Regions from separate parts of the Homo sapiens genome. Here region 1 is linked to region 2. Evidence: promoter capture Hi-C in 16 types of primary human blood cells and fetal thymus (Javierre and others, 2016). All regions are on one chromosome and are shown on one strand. The core of a region is centred on a gene start or on the middle of the fragment in contact, and the rest is flanking DNA. Distances in the headings are between cores, read along the strand shown. Region 1 holds the start of LAMTOR1 (late endosomal/lysosomal adaptor, MAPK and MTOR activator 1). Region 2 holds the start of TMEM179B (transmembrane protein 179B).

The links. The method cuts DNA at HindIII sites, captures the fragments that hold promoters and counts their contacts. A CHiCAGO score of 5 or more calls a contact.
Region 1: the fragment with the promoter of LAMTOR1 here is called in contact with the fragment with the promoter of TMEM179B in region 2 in 1 of 17 cell types (neutrophils); the score reaches 5.0 in neutrophils.

Annotation. Positions count from the first base shown.
Region 1 is chr11:72,101,329-72,104,699 of GRCh38, reverse strand. It overlaps LAMTOR1 (late endosomal/lysosomal adaptor, MAPK and MTOR activator 1), which reads left to right and starts at 1,403. Exons shown (of 5, transcript NM_017907.3): 1 at 1,403-1,517. The coding sequence starts at 1,476. The region is part of intron 5 of LRTOMT (leucine rich transmembrane and O-methyltransferase domain containing); the gene reads right to left. It also overlaps the pseudogene LOC124902837. RefSeq lists enhancers at 317-837, 1,618-1,697 and a silencer at 1,248-1,517. The HindIII fragment of the contact is 8,877 bases long and covers 1-2,866 here.
Region 2 is chr11:62,785,517-62,788,885 of GRCh38, reverse strand. It overlaps TMEM179B (transmembrane protein 179B), which reads right to left and starts at 1,484. Exons shown (of 5, transcript NM_199337.3): 1 at 1,359-1,484. The coding sequence starts at 1,454. It overlaps TAF6L (TATA-box binding protein associated factor 6 like), which reads right to left. Exons shown (of 11, transcript NM_006473.4): 10 at 2,498-2,626; 11 at 1,544-2,369. The coding sequence ends at 1,590. It also overlaps a transcript of TMEM223 not described here. RefSeq lists a silencer at 1,854-1,963 and an enhancer at 2,214-2,413. The HindIII fragment of the contact is 7,473 bases long and covers 1-3,369 here.

The DNA of each region.
Region 1 (3,371 bases), core at 154-2,653, 9.3 Mb before region 2:
CTGTAACATGCTCATTGATATGCAAGTTTTCTGTAAGCAAGGCCATGCCTTGGGCTACAGGGAAGAGTCAGAACCTGTCACTGTGCTCCAGGAACTCCCAAGTTTGGTAGGTGAGACTGACCCAGGAACAGAGAATACAATATAGTGTGATCACTATTGGATGTTCCATGACTACAGGGACTTTGGCTGTTTTGTGAACTGCTGCATATCCAGATATAACAATGTGTGGCACATAGTAGACGCTCAGCAAATATTTGTTGATTCAATAAATGCATGAATTAACACTGGATGAGGATTAAGCATAGGGAGCTGGGCATGTCCAGAGAATGGAGTCAGAGAAGGTAATCAGGAGGACATTGTACTGAGTCTCGAAGACAGTAAAGACAGTAGGCAGACCAGGCTGCATGTACAAAGTCCAGTAGATCAATCAGGAAACTACATTATTTCTCTATGTCCAGTGAAACACATTGCTGACCCCTCCACCCCTCACCCCAGAACATGCAGTGGGAGAGGTGTCAGGCTCTTGTTATGTCAGACGGGTAATGTGCCAAAACAAGATTTGAGGGTGGCACATTTGATACATGCTGGTGAACACCCAATCACACGCTCATGAACAACAAATGGATCACTATACAATCTTGGACGGACTTGGACCTGTGTTCAGGGCCCAAGGGAAGACATGGAGCGGGGGTTAGGAAAAGAGAACTGATGGTCAGCTTTGTGCGTTCGATTACAATGGGTGCTGTTAAAAAAGGCAGAATTAAAGATAAAAGCCTGAAAGCAGAGAGGTCAGTGAGGTGGCTTCTATCTCCTCTACCAGGATTTATCTCCGCTGCGCGTCAGCATGTGAAGGTAGTATAAGGTCCCTTCTTCCTGTAAGTCGCAGATCCCCAGCCCAGGTGGAGAATACACCCTCTGTGTATTCACCCCCAGCCCAGCTGGGCGATACACCCTCTGTGTTCCCCGACTAGGTACTGGTCATCTGGATCATCTGTGTGTGTGCACCCAGACCGTACGATCTGGAGCATCAGGCCTGGATCCCAGTCGCCCCTCGCATGGCATTTAGAAGAGTATATCACAAGGGCATACGAGGGCATTTGGTACGAGTTCGCTCAATGGCCCAGAAAAGTGGCCTAGTGGCCACGAGAACGCATAACACAATTCACGATGGCCACTACTGCCAGTTTAGAGACTGGAAAGATGAAGTCATGTGATCCGCCCCGCCCTTTCCCCGCATCACGTGCTTGCGTGTACGGTTACGCCTTCCCATTGGTTGACAACGATCACGCGCTAGCGGGCGGGACCGGAAGCCGGGGTATTGACTGAGGCGGCCAAGCGGCTCCGGGACAGGGGGTACGGGGGGTGGGGGCGGGTGGTTGCCTGCGGGAGGCCGCCGCGGGTCATGTGACCGGAAGGGCTCCTCACGGACGCCGTCCCTCCTCGGCGCGGCCTGAGCGCCCGGCCCGACCCCGGCCATGGGGTGCTGCTACAGCAGCGAGAACGAGGACTCGGACCAGGTGCGGCCGCGGCAGGCGGGGCTCGGGAATGAGGGCTAAGACACTGGGGCATGGGGCCCAGAAAGAAACCTGCGGAGGACGGGCAGCCGGACTGCAGGGCTCACTGAATACGGAGGCCTGGAGGGGACAGATTACAGAGGAGACGCCAAGCCGGGCTCCTACCCCTGTTAAAGCCCCAGATTTCTACACAGTCCCCGCCTCGGGGTGTGCAGGCAGCCGCCTGTCCGGCTCGCTCCCACCACTTCCGTTTGCTCCTACCTTCAAAACTTTTCAGATTCAAGGATCCTCAGTCTAGGTCCCCGGGAAACACTCCCTTCCCCAGCTTCCTGTGTCTTCTGTGTATTAGTGGGCTTTGCGAATCCATTTTAGGGGTGGGTAAGCTGAGGCCCTGAGTTAGTCTGTCCTGAGATGAATCAGGAATTCGTGTATCGTCTTAGTCCCTGGGGTTGCAGAAGGAAGGTCGCTGCTAGTCTAGGGCCAGGGGACGACTCTGGAAGTTGGTGGCCTTTGAATTGGCCAATGAAGGATTTAATCGATACAGTGAGGACATCGGGACATGTGGGAAATTGTCTGGGAAGCAACAAAGAGGATTTAGCTTTGGCTAGATTGTGGGAAAAGAGAAATGGAGCGGGAAGTTCATTTGGTTCTGAGTTTGGCTTGCCTCAGTGCAGTCTGCCTGGGGCCTGAGGGTTCCTTTAGCTGGAGACATGCCTATTCTGAGAATTTGGCTGTAGATCTGATACCTTTGGAGAAAGGGTTAGGCTGGGGAGACCTGTACAGTTTTAAATTCTCCCTCTTCCTCTTAGTGCATTCTCACTTCTCCCCACACTCTAATCCCTGCCCTGCCTGGCCTGACATTCAAGGATGAAGTCTCAAGTTGCTGTCTACTCTCCTTTTTTGATCGTCTCTAAGCCCGGATTCTACATTTGAACATATAGTAGACCTGAGAGAGTAGAAAGGTTTCAGGTAGCTCACGGTCTAATGGGGAAGATGGTCACAAAAATAGATTATATCACTGGTACTTGGGAAGTAGTTCGTTCTTCAGTGAACGTATTTTGGATTAAGGGCTTAAGCCTAGGAAAATGTCGTTTGTATGGGAAGCAAGGGTGGCTTCTGGTTCTCAATTCTCCATACACCCAATGAACACATATTTCCTTTGCCCTGTGTTAGGCATGTGTTGTGCCTAATACCTCTCACTTCACTTCCACCTTTTTGAGAAAGAGACAACAATAACCCTGCCTACTGGGAGAGCTGTAGCCTAGTGGGAAATTGTCCCTTAAAGCATAATATGGACTCTTGCAGGGAATGAGTCAAGAAGGATTAATGCCGTATGAGAAAGGATACAAGCTTCTACTTGGAAGGGAGAGCTGGGCCTGCTGCTCTCCTGAATCTCTACCTTCTCCTTGGGGGGCTCTCATTTCTGTTCCTAACACCCAGAGAAGGTGCTTAATCACTGCTGGGTGATTTGAGGCCTCATGTAGCAAGGGCCATAACCATCCACCATCCCACAGTCCCTCTTTGAGTTCTTGGGCAGGCCCCTCTCCGACTCTCATCTCTGTCTCTTTATCATAATAAAAAATATACAACACGTTACAGTTTACAAAGGGCCTTCACAGTTATCTAATTTGACTCTTGCCAGACATCCGTCATATTAGTGTGGGTTATGTCTATTGAAAGGTGAGGAAGAAGTTCAGAGAAGCTAAGTGATTTGGCCAAGCTGAGAAGTGCTAGTGCCCAGGTGTTCTGACGCTAGGCCATGTACTTTATCCATGGGGCCAAGCTGTCTCAGCCATGCCCCTAGACCAGGTGGCCAGTCACGGGCAGGCTGCTATGTCTGTGCTAAGGTAGACAGTG
Region 2 (3,369 bases), core at 235-2,734:
GGACAGGGATATTGATGGAGAGGGCCTGCTGGGGAATCACACCGGCAGTGGCCAGAAGGATCAGAAAATAGGCAATGAATATAGAATGCAATGAGCTTCAGAGAAGCCTCACAAGTTATGGTCTCTGTGCAGAAACCTTAGAGTAAACCCAGGCCTTGTATATCCTTCAACAAATAACTATCTGTGAGGTGCTTTTTTTTTTTTTTTTTGCTGGAGTGCAGTGGCGCCATCTCGGCTCACTGCACGCTCTGCCTTCTGGGTTCATGCCATTCTCCTGCCTCAGCCTCCTGAGTAGCTGGGACTACAGGCACCCGCCACCATGCCTGGCTAATTGTTTGTATTTTTAGTAGAGACAGGGTTTCACCGTGTTGGCCAGGATGGTCTTGATCTCCTGACCTCGTGATCCGCCTGCCACGGCCTCCCAAAGTGCTGGGATTACAGGCGTGAGCCACCAGGCCCGGCCAGTGTTTTTGTTTTTGTTTTTGCGATGGAGATTCGCTCGTCACCCAGGCTGGAGTGCAATGGCACGATCTCGACTCACTGCAACCTCCGCCTCCCAGGTTCAAGCGATTCTCCTGCCTCAGCCTCCGAAGTAGCTGGGATTACAGGCATGAGCCACCACACCCGGCTAATTTTTGTATTTTTAGTAGAGACAGAGTTTTGCCATGTTGGCCAGGCTGGTCTCGAACTCCTGACCTCAAGTGATCCGCCTGCCTCAGCCTCCCAAAGTGCTGGGATTACAGGCGTGAGTCACCGCGCCCGGCGGATCTCTGAGGTTTTCTCATGGTGTAAAATAGGCACACTAGTGCCTACTTTATAGGCATTAAATGAACCCATGTTTATTAACCAGATTACCTGGCTGGGGTAAACGATGTAAATTATTGGCTTCTACCTTTACGTCAGCGTTTTCTCCATCTCTCATTTTGTCATTTAACACACTGTGCTACAATCATGTGGCAGCTTGATCATCTCCACTACACTATGCTTTATTTCTCGACAAAGCTCAGCACAAATGGCTTCTGATTTAACGGATGGACGCAGGTTCTGCACTGACTTCTGTTTCGGAACCACAGTAAGGCTGTGCAGCAGGAGCCACGAAACCCGACTCCACCTAGTGCTTTAAGACGCTACTGACCCGTCCCTTTGGCGAGGGGACAACTTCGAAGTATGACCTGGCCAGGAGGAGCCACAAAGCGCGATTAGCCTCGCTGCATTTCAGGTACAGGCCGGCGCCAGCCGTGCCTCACCAGGTCCACCGGCTCCGAGCAGCAGCAAGCCCGGTCGGAAAGCGAAAGTGGCCTCGCCATGTCCAGACCGGCCAGCTCCCCCGCCTACCTGACCCCGCCCCGCAGCCGCACCTGGGTCCGAGTCATCGCCGCGGCCGCCACGGCCCCGCACAGGAAGGCGGCAGCAAAGAGCGCAAGCTCGACGCGCTGCAGCCAGGACAGCGCCATGGCGCCCTGACCACCAGGAAGCGCCGCTGCAGCAGCACCCCGCCCAAAGCCCACCTTATCCGGCGCGACCCACGAAGGTGGAGACGTCATTTCCGGGGGCGGGATTTATTTACAAGGAACGAAGGGGCCACTGACTCAGAGCGGCAAGTACAGCGAGTAGTCCGAGAGCGCCCACCGGCGGGCGGGGCGGCTGGTACGGCCGATCATGGGCAGTTTCTGCACGTAGCGCGAGGCCGGGCTAGGCCCGTACGGCGCGGGGAAGGCAGTCTGGAAAAGGCGCCCGCGGCAGCGCCTCCCAGCCTGCCGCCCGGCTATGATGAAACGAAAGTGCGGGGCGCCGCGCGGGGCGAAACGGCTCTTCTGGAAAACGTCGCGGGTGCCGGTCCCGGGGCCCTGCTGCCGGGGTGCCCCGCGCGCCCGATGCACGCGCGGCAAGGGCCTGCTCTCAGAGGCGGCGGGCCCAGAGGCCGACGCGGGGCCGCCTCCGCCGCTGCCCCGGGGGCTCTCGTCGCCGTGCGGGCTGACTATGGCGCTTGCCGTCAGCTGCGGCATCTTCCGCACCGAGTCCGGGGCTGCCGCCGGCTCCTTCTTGTCCCCGGGCGGCCGCGGAGCCGTGGGTGCAGGCTGGCCGGTGCCAAAGCGTGTGGCCAAGCTGTCACCGAAGAAGGCGTAGAGCTCCCGGTAGATGTCGGCCAGGGTCACCGAAAGAGAAGGGTCCTCCGGCCCCGCGCCCCCTGGCGGCAGCGGGAGGCCGGACCCAAAGCTGGGTTCTGCACCGCCCCCGGAGGACGACTCTTGAAAGAGAAGGCTGTCCCATGGCAGGTCGTCCAGGCGCCGGCACCCCCTGCCACCTGGGCCACCCCTGTTGGGCTCTGCTGCCTGGGCCTTCATCTTCAGCAGTCGCTCTACCGCCACCTGTAAGAGCCAAGGACTAAGATAGGCAAAAAATTCGAGGAACCTGGGCCCATCAAATATTCCAAAGTAAGCCTGCTTGGCTGCTAAGCTCATGCAGGGAAGGGAGGCTGGAAGGGGACGGTACTCACCAGAATGGCTCCATAGACTTTGTGTCCATCTGCTTTGACCTGGGCATTAGATACTGAATAATCATCCAGCACAGCCTGCAAGTTTGTCCAGTAGGTGGACAGGTGTGGGTACAGGACTCGTTCTACTGCCTGGAAGGAAGAGAAGGAATACAGTTAGCATGTCTTTGATACTTATTCCCTCTCAAGGACCCTTTCCCATGAAAGACCTACCTTTATCTCTGATCCTAGACAGGGCTCAATCCTCCTAAATTCCCTGATTGGCATATTCAACCATATATTTATTTGGAACCTACTGTATACCTAAGCTAGGCATTGGGAATAAAGATAAGGTACAAAGGGAGACAATAAAAAATATACCCAATATCACTGCCCTGTGTGCTAAATAATGCTCATTACTGACAACTCCAAAATTTAGTTTGCATACTGCTACCCTATACAATCAGGCAAGTACTGGCTTCACTTAGATGTAAACTGAGACTCAGTTCAAACAATCTGCATAAAAACAACCAACCAGAGACTTGGACTCTGATTATACAATTTAAAATCCTGTGATTGGACAGGCGCTGTGGCTCACGCCTGTAATCCCAGCACTTTGGGAGGCCGAGGCCAGTGGATCACCTGAGGTCAGGAGTTCAAGACCAGCTTGGCCAAGATGGTGAAACCCCATCTCTACTAAAAATACAAAAATTAGCTGGGCGCAGTAGCAGTTGCCTGTAATCTCAACTACTTGGGAGGCTGAGGCAGGAGAATCACTTGAACTCGGGGGGCAGAGGTTGCAGTGAGCCGAGATCACACCACCGCACTCCACCCTGGGAAGCAAAGTGAGACTCCGTCTCAAAAAAAAAAAAAAGAATTAACTATAAGGAAAATAC